4 separate regions of the Homo sapiens genome follow, and all the other regions are linked to region 2. The links are contacts of gene promoters, found by promoter capture Hi-C in blood cells and fetal thymus (Javierre and others, 2016). All regions are on one chromosome and are shown on one strand. Each heading gives the region's core, a stretch centred on a gene start or on the middle of the fragment in contact. The rest is flanking DNA. Distances are from core to core; before and after follow the strand shown.

Region 1 (4,238 bases), core at 1,739-4,238, about 12 Mb before region 2:
CCCCAGCCCCGTTTCCCTGAACGACTGTTGGGTGTCCCGACGGCTCCTGTGGCTGGCAGAAAGAGAAAGAGGATAACACTGACCAGGTTTGGGTCTGGTCAGAGCCCCCGCCTCTTCAGGGCAGGTGCTGAGTTGTGGAAATTTGAGGAGCCTATTTTCGTGTTTAGTTTTCAAACTAAGACTGCTGCTTCTGCTTCTCTGACGGGCTTCAGCTGGGAACAGATTAACTAGGTTGCTAAAGGAACAAATATTTCTTCCGTGCACTGAAGACAGGCAGGAAGACAACAGATAACGTACCTGCAGTGGAGAGGTTAAGCTCCTGTACGGAAGCGTAATTCATAAATAGATAAATATAGGAAAGGACAACAAAGAAAATAGGGATAGAATAACGGGCAGAGAATTTAGAGATGATGTCAGGTGATTAGTTTTCTCATCTAAAAGCTTGAAAATCCTGCATGTTTGTGGAGTGGTCAAGCAGGTGGTGAAGAGGTGTGTGCATAAAATAAGTAGTACTCCTTTTATTTCTTTTCACCAATGCTCTTTGGATCTGGACCCGCTTTTTCTTTGTTAAGTGTATAATTAAACTAACAGGTTGAAATTAGATTTAGTTCTCAGGTTAGATGCCCAAGATGTTTGATGGCAGTGTAATATGGTGAAGGGAGACTACTTGTTTCCTAGTTTTGTAAACTTGGGCGAGAGATTGTTCAGTGTCTCTATATCTTCCTTATCCACAAGATAAGGTAGTTATAGTACCCTTCTCATGGGATTGTTTTGAGCTTAACATGGTATTCACGTGTATGAAGAGCTTGGAGTATTCACTGGTATGTAATAAGTTCATACTATATGTTAGCTATTAGCTATTATATATATTACAGTATATGGAGGTGCTTTGAGTGCCTCAAGATTCGTGTGAAAGACATTATGTCAGCTTGGATCTCAGTTACTTTTCTGAATTGTACAATTCATAGTTTCCTCAACAATGGTTTTAGATTACGATTATAAATTAGTAAATCCAGTAACTTTCGGAATTTAGCAGTAGCTGCTGAATTTGGGATTTCTGATGTACGTATAGACCAGTGGGATTTTTTTCTCACTAATTTTGACATATTTTAAAATGTGGGCTTTTCCTAGTGACATTTAATTTCACTTTCTATAACTTAAATTTGGCAACAAATTAAAATGGATTTGAGTTTAGGCATTCTCTCTTTAAAAAAAAATATATATTTATTGAGACAGGGTCCCTGTCTCCCATGCTGGGGTGCAGGGGTGAGATTGTAGCTCACAGCAGCCTCAAACCCATGGGGTCAAGCAATCCACGTTGGCCTCCAAAGTCCTGGGATTACAGGCCTGAGCTACTGGGCCTGGTGCAGTCTCTTTTAAATTTATATTTTGTTTATTTTTTTAAAAAACATGAGTTTGTGAACAGTTAGTCACAACTAATCTATCAAATCTGGAATACGTAAAGTTTTTTTAATGCCGATTGCCCAACAAAAAGATTAAAACGTTTTTAAAAGTTTACTTTAAAAACAACATTTTGCCGGGTGCGGTAGCTCATGCCTGTAATCCTGGCACTTTGGAAGGCCTAGGCGGGCGGATCACAAGGTCAGGAGTTCGAGACCAGCCTGGCTAACACGGGGAAACCCCATCTCTACTAAAAATACAAAAATTAGCCGGGCGTGGTGGCGGGCGCCTGTAGTCCTAGCTACTTGGGAGGTTGAGGCAGGAGAATCGCTTGAACCCTGGAGGTGGAGGTTGCAGTGAGCCAGATCGTGCCACTGCAGCCTGGGCGACAGAGCGAAACTCTGTCTCAAAAAAAAAAAAAAAAAAAAAAAAAAAGACAACATTTTTTAGTTTTAGCAGGAGATCCCTTCTTGTGGTTAATTTAAATTGGTAGAATTAAAGCATTTCAGATATTAATTTCACATTTGGCCAGTGGTCAGTATTACTGTATCTTCTAAAAATTAAGGAGCCCTGATCTTTCTTTAGAGAGCTCTGTGTTCTTTGCCATAGTAAATATCCCTTGCAGTGTAAACTAGTTTCCATTTTACCTGCTGGGAGAAAATTTAGGGTTGTGCACCTATAAATGTCATGGTGAAGTGGTGGTATAAGATGTGGATTAGGTAGGAAAGTAGGTAAATCTTAATCATGAAAACTTTATAAAAATTAAATTCTGTATTTTTAGCACCTTATATGTTTATTTTTCAGGGCAAACTCTTTGATTCTACAATAGCTGATGAGGGAACATGGACTTTGGGTAAGGGTAATTACTATAATTCATCAAATTAAAATAATTTTGTCTTGATATCTTTTCCTCTTTTGTATTAGGTCTTTTTTGTCTTTGCAGCTTTGAAAGATAAAGCAATAGAAATGTGTTGAAAACCGTTGTATGTCAAAGTTACCTAGTGGGGGGAGAAAAAATTAGTTAGTTGTTTTTGGAAATATAAAATTTAATGAAGAACTTCTTGAGACCACCCTGGCCAACATGGCAAAACCCCGTTTATACTAAAAATACAAAAGTTAGCCGGGCATGGTGGCGCATGCCTGTATTCCCAGCTAGTCGGGAGGCTGAGGCAGGAGAATCACTTGAACCCGGGGGGCGGAGGTTTCAGTGAGCCGAGATCAAGCCGCTGCACTCCAGCCTGGGTGAGAGTGATACTGTCTCAAAAAAAAAAAAAACAACTTGATGAAGAACTCTAATTTATTTGTGCGTGTGTGTGTGTGTGTTTTTTTTTTAGAGGACAGAAAAATGGTTCGTATTGTTCTTACAAAGACAAAGAGAGATGCAGCAAATTGTTGGACTTCTCTACTAGAATCTGAATATGCAGCGGATCCTTGGGTGCAAGACCAAATGCAGAGAAAGCTTACATTAGAGAGATTCCAAAAAGAAGTAAGTCAGATGAAGTGTATGAGTATGTGTAATTAAATATATAAAAATCATCAAATAAATATTTGAAATTAAAACTCAAATGTCATTATGAAAAGTTACAAACATTTTCTAGAAGAATTTTTAAAGTGAATTGTTAGAAAAATGGCCTTTCTTGTATGGATTTGATTTTTCGGAAGATTTTCTTGAGAGGAATTTATTTGTATTGCTGTGATTTGTGAGTTTAAGCTTACTTTTATGTACATCAGTAATGCATGAATAAACTCTTACTATAGTTGAATCAATATAGACTTACCTAGTGTAAAAAGTGAAAGGCCCCTTCACCACCATTCTCCCCATTCCATGCATCTATCTCATTTTCATCTCATATGTTGGCTATTGCTTGTTTTGTTTTGTTTTTTAGCATAAATGGAGGATCACACTGTGTGTATTGTTCTTCTTGTTGCTTTTTTATTTAATAATATGCTGTGGGTCTCTTTCCCTACTAATACATAGGTATAAAACTCATTCTTTTTAACTGCTTCAGAGGATTCTGTAGTTTGGATGTGTCATCATTATTTGGCTGTTTGCCTTTGATATGATTTAGATTTCTTCATTTTTCTCTATTTTAAAGAAAGCTGTGCTTTCATCTCTGTGAAACTACTCAAGTGTTCTAAGATATCTTTAAGATAAATATCTAGGAGAGGAATTGCTAGATTGCAGCACTTGATAATGTACGTCTTTATGATAATGATTTCCAGATGTATATCTCTAGCCTAGACTTTTTTTCTGAATTTAGGACCTGCATACCCGGTTGCCTATTCAACATCTCCACCTGGCTATCTAATGTATATTAAGCTCAACATGTCCAAGTTGAACACCCTAACATCCTTCCATATTTGTTTTTACCTGTAGCCTTTTCATCTCAGTTGATGAAAACTAGTAGTTCAGGTCAAAAAAAATTGGGACTCATCTTTGATTCTTACATCTTTCTCATACCCTATCCAATGTATTAGGAAATCTTACTGATGCTACCTTCGAAATATATTTAGAATTTGGCCACTTTTCACCACCAACTCTACCACCATTCTGATCTGGACCACCTCTAATGTCTTGCCTGATTACTCTAATAACGTTCTAATTGGTCTTCTCACTTTTACTCTTGCCATAGTCTTCTCAAAATAGCAGTTAGAGCAGTTCTTTTTTTTTTTTTTTTTCTGAGATGGAGTGGTGCGATCTCTGCTGACTGCAAGCTCCGCCTCCCGGATTCCCGCCAGTCTCCTGCCTCAGCCTCCCGAGTAGCTGGGACTGTAGGCTCCCGCCACCACGCACGGCTAATTTTTTTGTATTTTTAGTAGAGGTGGGGTTTCACCGT
Region 2 (6,088 bases), core at 2,315-4,814:
TCTAAGATTTTTCAATTAAGGAAATAAGCTGGCTATAGTACCCTATTAGGTACCACATGCTTTTCAAAATAGTTTTGACAATTCGGTTTCAGAGCTCCAATTCACTTTTTAGTAAAAGTATGGTAATACCAAAGATGTGTGAAAGCACTCTCTAAATATGCAAAAGGTTACACAAATACATAATGATGCTTTATATAGCCAGTGAAGTTAATAGCCACCAAAGATTACATCCCTACTAAGTAGATGTGTATACCATCCAGGAAGCCAAATTTCTGTCAATCATCTTTAATCTTTACTTTTGATTAAGTACCTAAGATACAACACACATACCAAGAACTTATTACATGACAGACTGGCCACCTGACAGAAGAGGGACTCTATCACAAAGTCGCCTAAAGACCTTATTTACTAAGCTACAGGCTGTGAGGGCAATTTTTTTGAAATTGCTTTCCACCTTGTAAGACAGAATATTAAGACACTATTCGTGTGTGTGAATTATTCCTACTCTTAACCCTATCACCTGGCTTGCAACTTGACCTTCCCAACTAAAGACAGACAGGATGTCCAAGAATACTTTTTTAAAAAAAGTAAATAGCTGATTTCTGAGATATAAAATTATAAACCTAGTGTGCCACCACATTGTGATCACCAACTACATGTAAGATAATAGTTGCTGAATCTAAATTCAACTCCAGGGCTTGTACTGGAGTACTGGAAGGGCAGTACTGCACTACCAGAGATTTTTCCCACTTGCTTTTGACAAATTACTGGGGGGCGGGCGAGGCTTTCCTTTTTTTTTTTGACCTACCTACTTCCACAATTATCCATTCTTCTTTGTAAAGTCAGTAATAGTTTCGTCCAAGGAAGCCAAAGCACAATATAATTAAACAAACATACAATGCCTATTTAAATTCTGAAAGTTAAAAAAAAAATCAATTTGCAAAATGTTAAAAGACCAAGTGGGCAGTTTTATCAGACTGACAAAAATAAAGAAAAAAAATATAAAATTGGCTTTAGTCACAAATGTAAGCTTTATGTTAAATTTTATCTTTTAACACTAGCCCCATCAGTCCTAAGGACGATATAAAATTCACAAACTTTTACAAAAACTTAAAACTGCCTTCTGCCGTTCACTTTCTATGCAAAATACTAGAACGAGTGGGAAAAAAAAAAACCATAAGTTACAAAAGAAAAACTGCTCTAAGTAGGTCACAAACAAACATTACCAAAATCTCCTAATGTTCCCCTGGTGCAGTGTCAGCTCAGGAACAGCAAACTGAGTTAAACAAAGAACTGTCTACTTTTCTACCTGTAAGAGGTACAAAAGCTTAGACTTTTGTACCGGTAAGCAGCTCCAACAAAACTGACGTATGACTTGGTAGGGATGTAGGGCAGCCTTGCCAAGCCTTACATTACCACAATTTGCTTCAATTCACTTGTTCCTGATAAATGCACAAGTAATCAGTTAGAGCACCAGTTTGTGAAATAATCACGTAATTTTCATGTTCCTGCCCAAGTGATAACCATTTGCCTGAGGCCAAGAACTGTATTTTTTTAATATTTTAAGTAGAAACTAACGAAATTTTCCCTCAATAATGTGTAAGGTAATTTCATTCTATTTTGCCTCAAGCAGTAATAAAATTAGCTGGACTCAAGCTTAAACAGTTTAAATGTAGGTCATTCTAGTGTTTTTCCATTTGACAACTTAAATTGCTCAACTTTAAGTCTAAGTTAAAATGCTAATTCCATAGTTAACCAGTCTGTAAGGGCAAGTAACCGGAATCGCCACACCAGCAAAGTTCCAAGTAAATGTTACTTGGAACATTATTATAATACTGTTATAGAAACATGTTTATAGAAAGGGTTTCCAGAACACGATTATAGAAATCTTTATGTTTATAGAAGTGTTTCTATAACATAGAAGATTTATTTCACTAAGCCAAGGAGTATGTTGGCTTTTAAATAATCTAAAAGATGGTAACTACTAGAAAAATATAAGCTCCAGTCCCTGAAGAAAAGCATCTTGTTTCTGCATATACACAAGAACCCAGCAGAGTAAATGCTAAATAAACGGAGTGTACACAAACTTTCATCCACAGATCTCGACTGTCACAGTTGTTTTTTCCAACACATCTCCAACACCAGTAATTCATCCAGCATGACACGCTCCACAGAGGTCCAAATAGTATACTGTAACTGGGCGCCAACCTTTCTATTCCAATTCCGTATTTTAACCCACAGATGCTAGTGAGATCTTAAATTCGTCGCTTTGCACCTCATTCCCTTCAACTATAAAGTGAATCTTCTCAAGGTCTTTCTGCAAAAGTCTCCTCCAATTAAAAAAAAAGTAGAGAAAAAAAAATTCAACGTCTAAAACCGGAGCCTAACTTCCCGCTGGCGGGAATTTCCCATCAGCAATCTGAGATTCAAACCCGATGAGGAACACAGTCCATGTTCATTTGCACTTACTCATCGTTTTCCCTACTTTTTTCCAGAAGCTACGGTGGCGGCACATCTACCCAGGGCCTGTACAAGTACACGTAGAAAGGAAGCCCAAACCCTTTTCCTTTGTCACATTCCCACTTCCAACCCTTGTCTCCCTGGAAGCCCAGAACTAGCCCAAGTACAAATGCCGCTGCAGCCTTCTCGGCAGGTGGCCTTTTGAGGCTGATGCTGCCCCGAGGGACAAGTGCTCTGGGGGCAAAGACTAAAAACAGGCTTGGGAAGCGGGGAGCTCGGAGTCAGAGGGCCCGGCGTCAACAAATCCCCGCCCTTCCCGTGCGTGCCTGTGACCCCGCTCTCCAAACCCGTGCCTTGGGCCGCTAAGGAAGGAGGATAGCCGTACCCACCTCGCCAGCTCACTGCAAGAATCAAATGAAAGGCAGAAAAGTGGCTCCGCACAGTGCCGGACACACAGTGAGGGCGTGGAAAGAACATTGGTTGTTACTACCACTCCGTGCACTCGCTGCTCCCTCTTTGCTCTCTGCAAAACCGAAGGCGCTTCTGCGACGCGCGGACCGCAAGACTCCAATCAGACTTTAGTGCTGCCCCCACCCTAAACGAAAGCCTCCTTCTGGTCCGAACCGACTGGATCCCTTGGCCAGGGGAGGAAAAGGTGCCGCGGGCGCGTGGCGGAGAGGGTGGCGGGCGGGAAACGCTGGGCGCGGGACCCCTGGCCCCAGAGACCGCCCTGGGGCCCAGGCGGCGGCCGCGGCTTACTCCTGCCCCGCGAGGCCGTTGGACGCAGCACGCGCACGCGGCGGACACGGCCACGCGCCCCAGCCGGGACGGGAGCGGGAGCGAGGAGCCGCCGCGCGCCCGTCCGTCCGCCGCGCGCGCCTGCGGCCGTTGGGGTGGGGGTTGGGGTGGGGGACGCGACTGGCGCGGCCGCCGCGAGCGCCACTCAGACTTCTCCCTCTCACAAGTGCTGCGGCTCGGCTTAGTCCTCTGGCCTCCCTGCCCCGCCCACACCCCGGCGTACCTACGCGGCTGAGCTGGAGAGGAACTAGCTCTGCACCACAGCACCGAGGATAGTACAAACCCCTCACGCAACTGCGTCCGCACACACGCGTGCTCCGCCGCCGGTCTATATAACTGCCACTCACCCTAACTTGTTGCGGCCAGGTCGGGCGACGGGATGACCAATCCCGACCGCGTCCTCAGGGCTCTTCGAACAGTAATTGGGCACTGACTCGGGGATGAAGGCGTGGCTCTTGATTGGCTTTGACTCCTGCCTATGAGACTGTGAGGATCTCGTTTCCCTAGTAACAGATCGGCACTAAGAGAGACCAATAACCGAAAAGTACAATAGAAAGGCGAGTGAGCAGTTCTTTGACTGATACTCAAAGTAGCCAATAAATGTGTGGGGCTGCTCTTATTCGTTAACACGTCTTCCCCTGGGCGGAGATCCGTTTTCCATGCAGGAGCGGTTGCGCCACAAGGTGGGGCCCGTGTACTTTGGGGAAGTAAACCCCTAGCAACTAGGAGGCGGGCGTCCGAGAGGCCAAGACAGCCTGTGGCCAATCGCAACGCCGGAAGGAGCTGATAGACACGGAGGTTGCTCTGCTCGGAAGAGACCGAGCCCCAGGGCCGCCGTGCCCTCTGGGCGGTTGTGAGGCTGTGCAGCCTGCGGCTTCTGCCCTCTTTCTTTCCCTGACTGGTTGGGTCCGGCCTCCGAGGCCTGTACCCCGCCTTTTCCGCATAGGTTTGTACCTGGCGAACCAACTAGTAAAGTTTCCCGGGTTGTTTTCTTTTTATTACAACTTTTTTCTTACGTGCGGCGGCCAAGGGCCTTGCTGCTCTCACCATTACTCAGCACTGCTGCGGGGCAGAGGAAGGAGGGTCGTTCCTGCGCCGCCCGCAGGCTCCCGCCGGAAGGTCGCCGGTGGAAGGCCTGAGAGTGCGCCCTTCCGCCAGGCGCTTCTTGGCGGGCGCTGCGAGGCGGCCGCGGGCGTGTGGCGAGGCTCCCTTTGTGGCAGCTGAGGCACGGTGGTCCGCGCGTGCTCCAGTGGAGTGTGGGCCCTCGCACCACGTCCCGAGCTGCACCACTATTGTTCAGCCTCGAATTGCCGCGGGTGGGGGCTTATTCTCGTCGCTACGCCTTTAAAAGGCAACTCGTCCCCTCCTCCTGGCGTTTCAGGCACTGGCGGGGCTACAACTCAAGGCTGGCCGGCCCTATTTCTATGGAAATAGCTTTGGTTCCCAGCCGTCCGGCACAGACACGCCCCGGTTTGTTCTCGTTCCAGGCATGTGACCAGGGTCTCCCGCGGAGTTTTGCTGAGAATTTTGGAAATGAAGCATGTGGAGCGCCTATGTCGGGGGAGAGAGGCCGAGCTGAAGGAGCACGGGCGCCGGCCTCGGCCTCTGGGGAGCCGGGCCCGCTCGCCTCCCTGCGCGGGGCTAGCCCGAGCCTGGAACTCGGGAGGCCCAGGAGCGAAGTGAAAGCCCCTTCTGGTCCCCCAGGGCTCCACTCCCGCAGCAGCCCGGCTCCGTCGGCGTCAGTGGAGCCCCAGGCCTGGGTCCGAGATGAGCGAGACGCTGCTCTGGCTCGCGGTCGCCCGAGCGCTCCCAAAACCAGGGAACAGGCCCCAGGAGAGAAGCCCCTAGAAGTTTCCTGGAGCAGGGAGTCTCCTGTATCCTGTTAGCTCTGCAAAGGAATCTGGACTTTATTCTGAGGGCCTTGGAGAACCCCTGCAAAGTTTTTTAAAAGGTGGACTAAGAGATTGGCATTTCACAACATGACTCTCCGAATTGAAACACTAAGAAGATTGGCGAAATTTAACATTTACAGATTAGTAATTTAACCCAGGTGACTCGCGATGAGGGACATGGCTACCCTTCACTTTTGGAGGGAGTTTTAAGTGATACAGATCTTTTTGCCAAGCAATTTTTTTTTTTTTTTTGAGACGGAGCGTCGTTCTGTCGCCCTGGCTGGAGTGGAATGCCGTGATCTCGGCTCACTGCAACCTCCGCCTTCCTGAGTTCAAGCGATTCTCCTGCCTCAGCCTCCCTAGTAGCTGGGATTACAGGCGCGCGCCACCAGGATCTGCTAATTTTTTTGTATTTTTAGTAGAGACGGGGTTTCACCATGTTGGCCAGGCTGGTCTCGAACTCCTGACCTCAGGTGATCCACCTGCCTCGACCTCGCAAAGTGCTGAGATTAACAGGCGTGAGCCACCGCGCCCAGCAGCAATTTAAAAATCTAATAAAATTGTGCATATCCCCCAAAACAATAATGTCACTTGGTTGATAGCCACATTTGTTTACAAAGGCATGTGCCAAGACTTTCACTGCAGCTTTGTCAGCATTGCTAGAAGATTTAAAACCCGAACACTTAATGTTCATCAATTGATAAGCTGTTTTAACAGTGATATACACGTAATATAGAATATTATGCAGCATGCCGGGCGCGGTAGCTCACGCATGTAATCCCAGCATTTTGGGAGGACGAGGTGGGTGGATCACCTGAGGTCAGGAGTTTGCGCGACCAGCCTGAGCAACATGCGAAACCCCGTCTCTACAAAACAAATTCAAAAACTAGCCGGATGTGGTGGCACACGCCTGTAATCCCGGCACTTTGGGAGGCTGA
Region 3 (5,990 bases), core at 3,305-5,804, about 14 Mb after region 2:
TCATTTTGTGTCAGTATATGCACAGACAGAGTGGCTGATATGACTGGATGGCTTTCTGGTTTCACTACTCAGGTCAAAGAGGTCACTTCTGAATGTGAGTCTATGCACTGTGTCATCTACAGAGAAATGCCGGGTAGCCGAAAATTGTCACCCGAACTTAAGGTTTTACAGGATGTGATTAAAATTATCAATGACATTAAAGTGCATGCCCTTAACTCAATGTCTGTTTGCGCAACTCTGTGAGATGTGTATAAGAAATGAGATGGCTTTCTAAAGGTAGATAACTGGCCAGAATTTTTGAGTTATGAGAGCCACTCCAGAGATTTCTTTTACAAAAACAGTCACCACTAGCAGCACATTTCAGTGACATAGAATGGGTGGCAAAACTTGTTTACTTGTGTGACACATTCAACCTGCTCAGTGAATTCAATCTGTCACTTCAGGGGAGAATGACAACTGTGTTCAAATCAGCAGATAAAGGGGCTGCATTGAAAACCAAACTGGAGTTATGGGGGCGATGAGTGAACATTGGGATTTCTGACATGTTTCAAACATTAGCAGAGATTTTGAAAGTGACTGAGCCAACGCCTTCTTTCTCCCAGCTGCTGCATGATCACCTAGCTCAGCTTTCAAAAGAGTTTGAGCTTTACTTGCCAACCACAAAAAAATCCCTGAGCTGGGAAGGAATGGATCCACCACCCATTTGTGAATAAGCCAGAAGAATTGACTTTGTCGATACTAGAAGAGGATCAACTGCTTGAGATTGCAAGTGACGGCAGCCTTGTATGTTTGAGACAACTTCAAATCTCCATACATTCTGGATGGAATATCCTGAGATTGCCACAAAAGCACTGAAAAGCCTGCTTCCATTTCCAGCATCCTATATTTGTGAAGCAGGGTTTTCTGCAGTGACAGCAACCAAAACTAGATTATGGAGTAAACTGGACATAAGCAACACACTTCGGGTGTCACTGTCTCCCATCACCCCCAGATGGGAACCGGCTAGTTGCGGGAAAACAAGCTCAAGCCTTCCACTGATTCTACGTTACGGTGAGTTGTATAATTATTATATTTCATTGAATATTATGATGCAATAATAATAGAAATAAAGTGCACATTAAATGTAATGCACTTGAATCATCCTGAAACTACATCCTGGTCTGTGGAAAAATTGTTTTTCACAAAATAGGTCTCTTGTGCCAGAAAAGTTGGGCACTGCTGGTAAACTATTATTTAAAAACAATGTAGGCAAAAACTATCTACCAAAATTGTAAATTCCTAAAGTAACAGTTTTCATAAGTTATGGTCTTTATTCCTTCAGGAGTTCATCTTTTACTGTTTTAAGATTTGGATGACTCTGAAACAGTGGTGCCATCTCAGCTAACAACAGCAGCATCTGCCTTCTGGGTTCAAGCAATTCTCCTGCTTCAGCCTCCCAAGTAGCTGGGACTACAGGCATGCGCCACCACACACGGGGTTTCAATTTGTTAGCCATGCTGGTCTTGAGCTCCTGACCTCAAGTGATCCGCCTGCCTCAGCCCCCCCACAGTGCAGGGATTACAGGCACGAGCCACTGTGCCCAGCCCATTTTCCCCTTTCTTTATTATCAATAGGCAAATCCTGACATTTGAATTTTTTTTGTAATAACAAGGTTAATAGCTTTCTACTGTCCTCTTTCATTTTTTTAATGTCATTTATCACTATCTAACATGCCATATACCACTCTTATTTGTTTATTGTCTGCTTCTTCCCACTAGAATGTAAGCATCATGAGGGCAGAGGTTTTTGTCTGTTGTTTACAGCCATATTGCCAGCACCAGGCATAGGATTCATATAATTGGATAAACTGAGCACTTACTGTGTACCAGGCATGTATACATGTTTACATGTAGAATCTTATTTAATTTTCACTACAACAGAAAGATGTTTTATTATTCCCATTTTAAGATAATAAAACTGATTACATTTTTTTAAAAGGTTAAGTAACTTAGCCAAAGTCACATAACTGAATGGTTACAGGGTAAGTGATAGATCAGACTAGTTTACCCTCAAACCTTAGCCCATCTATTTACCTTTGTTACAGTATCCAAACTACTTAACCTAAGATTCAGCACATTCCATAGTATCATTTCATAGTACCAAAGACCCTCAACCTATCTTACCTCTCACTATTTTCTATCTAAAACTGCCTGCTTCTCTCAAACTAACTGGCCCACTCCCTGTCTCTTGAAGCTTATGTTCCCTCTGGATTTTGCTCAAATAAACTCCCTACAGAAATCTTTTTTTTTTTCCTTTCCAACTTTTATTTTAGGTTCAAGGGATACGCGTGGAGGTTTGTTATGTGGGTAAATTGTTAGTCTTGGGGGTTTGGTGTATAGATAATTTTGTCACCCAAGTCATCAGCATAATACCTGATAGGTAGCTTTTTAGTCCTCACCCTCCTCCCACCCTCCATCCTTAAAAAAGACCTGATGTCTAATGTTCCCTTCTTTTGTGTCCATGTGTACTCAATGTGTAGCTCCCACTTATAAGTGAGAACTTGTGGTATTTGGTTTTCTGTTCCAGCCTTAATTTGCTTAGGATACTAACTAGTCTTTGGCTCTGAGGTTCAGTGCAACTTCCAATTCTTTCCTAAATCTTTCCTGAATACTTGAGGATACAGTGAGGAATTCCTCTTAACTTCTTCAGCGTTTACCATATGGTTTTGGAGGCTTTTGGTCACGTAATGCCTCATATTAACTATGTCCCACCCCATTTATCTTGCTTGGCACACAAAGGCTCAATAAATGGAAGCCATTGTAATTTTCTTCCATTCCCATCTGAGTGAGGGCACTAAAAGCAGTAACTTAGGGGTATATGATCTCTCTCTCTGTAAAACATTCGTCTAACCCAACATCTTTAAAAAGCTAACATTCTACTTTTGGGAGGCCGAGGCGGGCAGATCACTAGGTCACGAGTTTGAGACCATCCTGACCAACATGGTGAAATCCCGTCTCCACTAAAAATACAAACATTAGCCAGGTGTGGTGGTGCCCGCCTGTAGTCCCAGCTACTTGGGAGGCTGAGGCAGGAGAATCGCTTGAACCCGGGAGGTGGAGGTTGCAGTGAACCAAGATCGTGCCATTGCATTCCAGCTTAGGCAAGACTCCGTCTCAAAAAAAAAAAAAAAAAAGCAAAGTTAACATTCTAGGCCAGGCGCGGTGGCTCACGCCTGTAACCCAGCACTTTGGGAGGCCGAGGCAGATGGATCACCTAAGGTCAGGAGTTTGAGACCAGTCTGACCAACATGGTGAAACCCCATCTCTGCTAAAATACAAAAATTAGCCGGGTGTGGTGGTGGGCGCCTGTAATCTCAGCTACTCAGGAGGCTGAGGCAGGAGAACAGCTTGAACCCAGGAGGCGGAGGTTGCTGAGCCGAGATTGCGCCAGTGCACTACAGCCTGGGCAACAAGAGTGAAACTCCATCTCAACAACAACAAAAAAGCTAACATTCTAGTTCAAAGAAAGCAACACATAGATGATGTAAATTACACATAAAAAACCATTCACTGAGGTTAAATGAAAATGTCTGCTGGAGTGTGCCAAGGGGACCTGAAAGGGCCTCCTCTGAGAGGGCATCGTGGGAGGGCTTCAAGGAGGGCGGGAGGGTGGCAGGGAGGCAGGGATGTCGCGCCTCGTCTGGTTCCTAATGTCTGAAGTTCTTTTGGTTCCCTGTTGTCTTTCACACCGCCGCCTCGGGCTCGCTTTTGCGCAGGGCCACGTGGCAAAGTTTTAGTTTAACCGCACGTCGGGCCCACTGTAAACGGTTAATAACCGCCTTCGTGGACCAGGCCTCTGCCCTCCATCTTTGTGCGGGCGGGAGGTGGGGCGGGGACGCCAGGTGTAGCGGACAAGCGGAGAGGCGGCGGGTAGATCCGGGCCCCCAACCCCAACAGTCAAGTTTTCAAAAAGCCCGCGCGTGGCGCCCCAGACCGCATCCGTTGGGAATGGCCCCCAGCGCGCCCCCTGCTCTCTCCCCGGCAAAGCCCTGGGCGGGAGAAGGCGCGGGGGTGGTAGGCCGGCTCTGCACGCCGGGGGCGCCGGGGCAAGCGCGCACCGGGGAGCGCGCCCGTCCAACAGCTGCCGAAAACGGAAGTGGGTGCGAGGGGATCACGGTGATTGGCTGAACTCAGATGTCTCTCAAGGGGCTGGCGCGAACGCCACTGCGGAGTTGGGCGAGGGGATGAGTAAAGGGGAGGGGGAGAAACACTGGGAACAGCCGCGGTGCTAGGAGGAAATGAATCGCGGTGGTGCGCGGAGGGCAGGGAGGGACCCATGTCAAGGGACAGTGGGGCGCTCGGGAATGAAAGTGGGCTGGCAGAAGCGGAAGCGGGAGCGGCACAGGCCGCGGGCTTGAATAGACCGCGGAGGGCGGGGAGTCCGTGATCTAGAGCGGCGCTGCGGCGCGGTAGGCGGGATTAAGGGGAGCGAGGCGGGGATTGGCTGGTAGCCCTAGGCTGCCGTACGTCGGCGGTGACGCACGCCTCGGGGAGGGTGCGCGCGCGTTCAGCGGCCTCTTTGTGTGGTGCCCAGATAGGGGAGCGGAGGTGGCGGCGGCGGCGGTAGCGGTGGCCTTGGTTGTCTTCCAGTCTCCTCGGCTCGCCCTTTAGCCGGCACCGCTCCCCTTCCCTCCCCCTTCCTCTCTTCCTTCCTTCCCTCCCCTTCCCTTTTTCCCTTCCCCGTCGGTGAGCGGCGGGGGTGGCTCCAGCAACGGCTGGGCCCAAGCTGTGTAGAGGCCTTAACCAACGATAACGGCGGCGACGGCGAAACCTCGGAGCTCGCAGGGCGGGGGCAAGGCCCGGGCCTTGGAGATGGAGAATTCTCAGTTGTGTAAGCTGTTCATCGGCGGCCTCAATGTGCAGACGAGTGAGTCGGGCCTGCGCGGCCACTTTGAGGCCTTTGGGACTCTGACGGACTGCGTGGTGGTGGTGAATCCCCAGACCAAGCGCTCCCGTTGCTTTGGCTTCGTGACCTACTCCAATGTGGAGGAGGCGGACGCCGCCATGGCCGCCTCGCCCCATGCCGTGGACGGCAACACTGTGGAGCTGAAGCGGGCGGTGTCCCGGGAGGATTCGGCGCGGCCCGGTGCCCACGCCAAGGTTAAGAAGCTCTTTGTCGGAGGCCTTAAAGGAGACGTGGCTGAGGGCGACCTGATCGAGCACTTCTCGCAGTTTGGCACCGTGGAAAAGGCCGAGATTATTGCCGACAAGCAGTCCGGCAAGAAGCGTGGATTCGGCTTCGTGTATTTCCAGAATCACGACGCGGCAGACAAGGCCGCGGTGGTCAAGTTCCATCCGATTCAGGGCCATCGCGTGGAGGTGAAGAAAGCAGTCCCCAAGGAGGATATCTACTCCGGTGGGGGTGGAGGCGGCTCCCGATCCTCCCGGGGCGGCCGAGGCGGCCGGGGGCGCGGCGGTGGTCGAGACCAGAACGGCCTTTCCAAGGGCGGCGGCGGCGGTTACAACAGCTACGGTGGTTACGGCGGCGGCGGAGGCGGCGGCTACAATGCCTACGGAGGCGGCGGCGGCGGTTCGTCCTACGGTGGGAGCGACTACGGTAACGGCTTCGGCGGCTTCGGCAGCTACAGCCAGCATCAGTCCTCCTATGGGCCCATGAAGAGCGGCGGCGGCGGCGGCGGTGGAGGCAGTAGCTGGGGCGGTCGCAGTAATAGTGGACCTTACAGAGGCGGCTATGGCGGTGGGGGTGGCTATGGAGGCAGCTCCTTCTAAAAGAAAATTTAAAATGCCTGGGAGTGGCTATAGGGGTAGCTCTTTCCAACAGCCCAAGTGGGGTCAACTCCTAAGCCCCACCCCCTCACACACACCGCCTTCCCTGTTTTGCCCTTGGGGGAGCCACTTCTAAGGCTGCTTACCCTTGGGGGTGTTCCTCTATTTGCCTGCCACCTCTCTTGTCTCTCCCTCTGAAGATGGACTCGGCCCCACATACACATT
Region 4 (5,903 bases), core at 514-3,013, about 12 Mb before region 2:
TAAATAAATATTCTTATTATCGTATCTAATCGAATGATACCAAATTGTATAGGTAATGGGAGATACATGGCTCCTTCCAAATGGTCCAACACAGTACTCTGGGACAGTGATTTCTACTTTAGCACACCTGCATTAATGTCTACTAAAAATGTTCTAGAAAAGTAAAGAATGGAATACTATTAGTATGTGGTTTTCCCAAATTTCAGTGGTAAATACCTTGTCGTTTTTGGAAACTTTAAAACTTGGCACAGTTCCATGTTTAATTTTTTAATTCCCCAGAAACAGACCCTTAAGGTAAACATTACTGGGCTTTACTTTTTAAGATTCTCTGACTACTTAGGTGGGATTGGTCTAACTTCTACTGCGACGCTACTGTGCTCCACAGACAGTATTACTAACAACAACCACTCCAGGATGCTTCTCTAACGTTAACTATGAGACAGTTCTCGTTCTCATGAGTCAGTAAGCTTTAATTCTACAGGTTTTGAGAGCAGTAAGTCTGTGCCAAGCTCTTCGTTGTTTCATTTTTAATGAAGGAAAACACGAAAAGCTATTTTCATTTTTATACTGAACTTCTTTTTGTGAAAGTAGATTAAGCTTTATATGCACACGTACACATACAAATGCATACATATAAATGTAAACGTATGTAACATGCACTCAGCACGGTCTGGAGGACCTAGGAACATAGAGGTTTAATAGACCATTTATCCTAACTTTACCCTCAAAGAACCAAAGTGATTTGAAAACCCTAAGTAAATTTGGAAGCATGAAAACTTTGCAATAACAGAAACAGCCATCTCCTATATTCTCTACTCTCTCCAAAAGACATGGTCTGGGCATTAGTAGTGTTCTTATCCCCAGGGTTGGATATGTTCTGTGGACAGATTAATGCTGGAGGCCCTTAAGTGGAATGGAGCAGGATGGGACGGGGGCGAGGGGGGCACCAGAGATGGATCTTCCAATCATCACCATAATCTTCCTTCAGGGAAACTCCGTAGTGGTTCAAAGCCCAAGACAGTCACACAAACCTGTATCTGAATTCCAGGCTCCAACCTTACGGAATGAACCTGGGCCAATGTCTCACCCTCTATGCCCGTTTTCTCGTCTACAAAATGAGGCAATAACAAGTATCTCACAGTGGAGGATTAAAGTAATGCCCGTCAAGTGCATAACATAGTGCTGAGAACTTAAGAGTTCAATAAGTTGTCATCTCCAGCACTGTTATTTGTGAGAAGTCACCTTTTCCTGTTCTTTCTCAAACCTACGAACTTGTAAGATCGAGAAATACGAACCAAAGATGAATAAACGGGGAAAACCAAAATCAAAACAAACAATTCTGAAAAACCTCTTCGTCCTCAGGAGCAGAGACAGAACTCGAAAGTAAAACCTCCACCTACTTGCTTCCTGCCGCAGTGGCTGGAAGAAAAAAACACTGACCCGTGTGCGCTGAGATAAACAAACTCGGTGGCGCCCCCCTCGGATCCGGGGCTGGGAGGGTGGCGGTGAGACCACTCCCGGCCGGAGGCTCTGACCCGGGCGGAATACGCCTGCAAAGCCGCCCGAGCCCCGGTGGCTCGTCCCCCTCGGCGCCCCCGCTCCCACCGGAGACGCCCAGGCCGACTCCCTCACCTCCACCAGCCGACAGCTCCCGGGAACAAAGTGTATAGAGAGCTCTTTCTCCCGCCCCACCATGCCCGCCGTCTTCACGCCGCAGCCTCAGCGGCCGCCACCTCCTCCAACCCAGGATCGACGCGGGCCTCAGCTCAGACGCCCTCGGCCCGCCTCCCCTAGGCCCAGAACGACCCCGCTCGCCGCTTCCGGCTTCCGCTGCCATAGCCGCGCCCGTTGATTGGCCACGCTCCGCCGACGCCCCAGAAAGAGGGCGGGTACGCGCGGTCTGCCCCCAGCCCACGCGCCGATGCTTAAAGCGACACACAAAAGAAAGGCCCTGACCTTAGGCAGTGAATTCAGGTTTTGTTTCGGAGATTTTATTTGAGTGCTTTTTATTCTACTTTTTTTCCTTTTTTTCTTGACTCGGGAAAAGATTGAAGTGGATCGCCTTGAGTTTCAAGTTTGCAGACTGCGCAGTGCATGAGGATCGACTGAGCAATATAAAAAGTGGAATAAAAAGCATTTTAAAGTCATGGGGGCGGGGGCGGAGGTGGGTAGAGCATAATGGACACATCTCTAGAGCTCTAGGTGGGGGTTTTGAAAGATTTAGAAAAAGACAAGGAATAAAAATAAAAGGGTTGGCGTCTGAGCCATTTGTCTTCCTGGGATGCTTAAAAAAAGAAAAAACCTGTGTGTGAGATATCAAAAATGTAAAACTATTTTTAACTAATTAAAAATAAAAAGTTGTAGGGGGAAGGAAGATGAACTACTTAGGTACCTCTTCAAAACGCAGATCCTTGGACTTTACCCATAATTACAGAACAAGAAACGAGCCCGGGGTCCGACTTCTTAATGGGTTTAACCAGAATCAAGCCCACTCTTTAAGAAACACCGCCTCGGGGATTGCAGGATTGGGCCACACGAGCCCAGCCTTGGTGAGCACCGAGAATTTAAGCAGCAGCGTGTAAGGCTGGGCGTTCTACCACCTTTTAAAAGTTAAGCAGCCCTAAGTGCTGATGCCGACTTATTTCCCTTCCAGTTAAAAACCGCAAAAAATCCTCAGCCAGGCTGGACGCCTGTGAAATTGATGCAGAAAGTAAACCCTGGCACAGGCCGTGTAGGATTTGCCAACTTTGCACCGAACAGTCCAAGGGTTCTTGTGTGCCCAGGATAGCAAGCTCTAAACGTCGTCCACAAACGTGACCACTGTCTGGATTTTCCTAGGGCCTTTCCCCGACTCCTAAACCTTTTTGGTTTATTTTCAAACTAAAGACTAAGCAGCCTTTTAAAGAAGTTTTCCACGTCAGAACACCATGACTTTCCTTCCTCCTCAACCCCCAACAAAAACTCATTTCCTTATTCGTGTAAACATAAAGTTTCTCTAGAACAGTAATCGAAGACAGCCTGAGGTTTCTTATGTTCCGATTTTTTTTTTTTTTAAACACAGGCTATTACTGTTCATTAGTTTGGCTTTATTTAGGGAATCCTTGAGGACTGCCCCAGCGCTAAACAAGCATAATCAGGGGACAACAAAGAAGAGGGCGGGAAGAGGGCCGGGGGAGCAGCCAAGATCATCTTACTACTTTTTCTCTTAACTGGGAATTCGGTTTAAAGTTTCTAGTCGCAACACGTGATGTAATCTTACCTTTCTATGGGAGAAAAGAAAATTAATTCTTCATTCTTCAACGTGAAGCAGGTTTAAGGGCAAGCATATGCAATTAGCATTCTGATTCTCAGAGCAGCCTAGTCTTGAGGAACAGAAAGAATTTAACTTGGCTGCTTTTGAAAATCTGACTTGATACTTTCCCCGTAAAAGTTGGGTACAGTTCTAGGGGCATATGTTTGGATATGGTTTTTAATCATTTTCTTTAATGATGGTAGGGTCTATGCGAATCAAACGCCATTCTTAACATAGACAATATACAACTTCGTGTGGTGGCTAAGTCTATACATTTAAAGAGAGCAGCCTGAAACTAAAAGTTATGTTAGCAGATTCAATTCATACAAAGACAAAGAACATCTGGAAAGGAACACACTACAGATAAAATCCTTATTTATGTAGAAACTTTATATACATAATTGCATTTAAAATGGTAAATGAAAGTGCAATTCTGTATTGTCAGCTAGTGAGACTTAGCTGAGCCCTTCATAACCTGGTTCTCCGGGTCAGTAACTAAAGTTGGCTTATTCTTCCATGTCCCGAGGTTATGTTTTAAGGAAATGAATGACACCCGTTTCTATTTTCTTTACACAACAATTCTGGTTTTAGCAGGCGTTCACTGGAATGCTTTTAAAGCATCTCTTACTCTAGAATGCTTCATTTCTTGAATTGCTAGTTCTTACCTGCTCCATGTCCTCTGGCATTTCAGGCATGACTCCAGAATTATTTCAGGAGAGCAGATACGGGATGGGTCTTAGCCTCTGCCTTCTCTTGCTGGGTCTTTGTTCGCTTCTGCCTGCAGAGAGCGCAGGCACGCCAAAACGTGAGGAGCAGCTTCACTTGACCTTTTAAATTAGCATTTTGATTCCAATCCCGGAATCTCGTGCAGTTCTCCACATGGCAGTAAGCTGGTAGCTGATTCCCCGTAGTAGTCTCGAAAATACCCAATGAGAAGTTTCATGTTTAATTGCCAGTCAAGCCTGGGTCTATTTGCAAAACTATTTGGTAGAACTAACTACTTAACAAAAACAAAAACAAAAACCCAACAACTTCCTGTCAAGATTCCTTGTAGTTTTCTTTTGCAAAAGAAGAGTGAGCCACACTTTTGGAAAGCACACAGATCATGCAGTTGATTCCTGTTCTAAAAGGCACAGTTTTCTATCATTTTATTTAGTTACACCTTATTGCAACAGATTATGTTTAGTAAAATTCTCCAGTGCTTTCCCTTCCCAGTGCTTTTAATTATTTCAAAGGAGAGTAAAAGGCAGTGGTGGTAACAGCACGCAAGAAGTAAAATGCAACGGGTCATTTCCATTAATACTATGCTGCCCTCTGAGAAAATGGTAGATGGAGTGAGCGGCCTTAAGTTTCACAAAGCATTAAGGACTTCTAGATAAGTGATTTCCAAACCTGCCTGCACCACAGAACCTAAGAAACGAAATCATTCTCTGGGAGCGAAGCCCAGTAATCTGTTTTCGAAGACTTTCAAGGGTCATGAACGTGCTCAGTGAGCTTTGCACCGCTATTCTGAATTATGGCTCTGTACCAATTTAAGAACATCAAAAATTGCCATTCAAATTGAACTAAAAAAATCATCTGACTTTTAATGTTACATTCATTTAGAGCACACAGCGCATGGTAAACTCTAAGAGGCATTCAGAGAAATCTATTAATATAAATTATGAGGAATTGTTGTGTGTGTGTTTGCATTTGTGAACAAATGTGAACCTGAAAAAGCCAGTCCTTCAAGATGGATCCCAAGTGGCTAACTGGGCATAATTTATTTATTTTTATTATTTCAAGACAGGGTCTCCCTCTGTCACCCACGTTGGAGAGCAGTGGTGCCATCACAGCTCACTGCAGCCTCGAACTCCTGGGCCCCACGTAATTCTACAGCCTCAGCCTCCCAAGCAGCTCCACAGATAAGGAGTGAATATTCGCCTTGGCCATTCCCGGATTCCTTAGCTCCAAGCACACATTCTTCTTAGACCACAGGGTATTCTCAGGGTATGCTTAAAGTTATTGCTGTCAGGTGCATCTGCCATACAACGCTATTTATTTATTATTATTATTATTATTTTTTTTTTTTTTTCTTTTTTGAGACGGAGTCTCGCTCTGTTGCCCAGGCCGGACTGCGGACTGCAGTGGCGCAATCTCGGCTCACTGCAAGCTCCGCTTCCCGGGTTCACGCCATTCTCCTGCCTCAGCTTCCCGAGTAGCTGGGACTACAGGCGCCCGCCGCCGCGCCCGGCTAATTTTTTGTATTTTTAGTAGAGACGGGGTTTCACCTTGTTAGCCAGGATGGTCTCGATCTCCTGACCTCATGATCCACCCGCCTCGGCCTCCCAAAGTGCTGGGATTACAGGCGTGAGCCACCGCGCCCGGCCCTTATTTATTATTTTTAAGACGGACTCTCGCTCTGCTGCCCAGGCTGGAATGTAGTGACATGATCTCGGCTCACTGCAACCTCCGCCTCCCGGGTTCAAGCAATTCTCCTTCCTCAGCCTCCTGAGTAGCTAGGATTACAGGTGTATGCCACCACACCCGGCTAATTTTTGTATTTTTAGTATAGACGGTGTTTCACCATGTTGGTCAGGCTGGTCTCGAACTCCTGACCTCAAGTGATCCG

What was found. The method cuts DNA at HindIII sites, captures the fragments that hold promoters and counts their contacts. A CHiCAGO score of 5 or more calls a contact.
Region 1: a contact is called between a fragment that was not itself captured here and the fragment with the promoter of G3BP1 in region 2, in 1 of 17 cell types (fetal thymus). The highest score is 5.5, in fetal thymus.
Region 3: the fragment with the promoter of HNRNPA0 here is called in contact with the fragment with the promoter of G3BP1 in region 2 in 3 of 17 cell types (total B cells, naive CD8 T cells and fetal thymus); the score reaches 8.3 in total B cells.
Region 4: the fragment with the promoter of MAT2B here is called in contact with the fragment with the promoter of G3BP1 in region 2 in 3 of 17 cell types (naive CD4 T cells, naive CD8 T cells and total CD4 T cells); the score reaches 10.6 in naive CD4 T cells.

What each region holds. Positions count from the first base shown.
Region 1 is chr5:163,455,578-163,459,815 of GRCh38, reverse strand. NUDCD2 (NudC domain containing 2) reads left to right here. Exons shown (of 4, transcript NM_145266.6): 2 at 2,206-2,254; 3 at 2,736-2,887. It also overlaps a transcript of CCNG1 not described here. Among named protein-coding and RNA genes, the nearest start is that of NUDCD2, 2.4 kb to the left of the region's middle. The HindIII fragment of the contact is 252 bases long and covers 2,863-3,114 here.
Region 2 is chr5:151,769,430-151,775,517 of GRCh38, reverse strand. G3BP1 (G3BP stress granule assembly factor 1) reads right to left here and starts at 3,564. Exons shown (of 12, transcript NM_005754.3): 1 at 3,482-3,564. It overlaps LOC100652758 (a long non-coding RNA gene), which reads left to right and starts at 3,342. Exons shown (of 2, transcript NR_132345.1): 1 at 3,342-3,815; 2 at 4,746-5,725. RefSeq lists silencers at 2,938-3,007, 3,058-3,387 and enhancers at 3,596-3,890, 4,148-4,377, 4,756-5,477. The HindIII fragment of the contact is 14,997 bases long and covers 1,659-6,088 here.
Region 3 is chr5:137,752,927-137,758,916 of GRCh38, reverse strand. It overlaps HNRNPA0 (heterogeneous nuclear ribonucleoprotein A0), which reads left to right and starts at 4,554. Exons shown (of 1, transcript NM_006805.4): 1 at 4,554-5,990. The coding sequence starts at 4,851. The coding sequence ends at 5,768. RefSeq lists enhancers at 238-357, 3,822-4,513, 4,775-5,124, 5,635-5,794, 5,204-5,895 and a silencer at 3,835-4,194. The HindIII fragment of the contact is 5,253 bases long and covers 2,235-5,990 here.
Region 4 is chr5:163,501,479-163,507,381 of GRCh38, reverse strand. It overlaps MAT2B (methionine adenosyltransferase 2 non-catalytic beta subunit), which reads right to left and starts at 1,763. Exons shown (of 7, transcript NM_013283.5): 1 at 1,633-1,763. The coding sequence starts at 1,695. RefSeq lists a silencer at 1,447-1,586 and enhancers at 1,757-1,876, 1,917-2,006, 1,224-2,030, 4,261-4,310, 3,646-4,454. The HindIII fragment of the contact is 7,455 bases long and covers 600-5,903 here.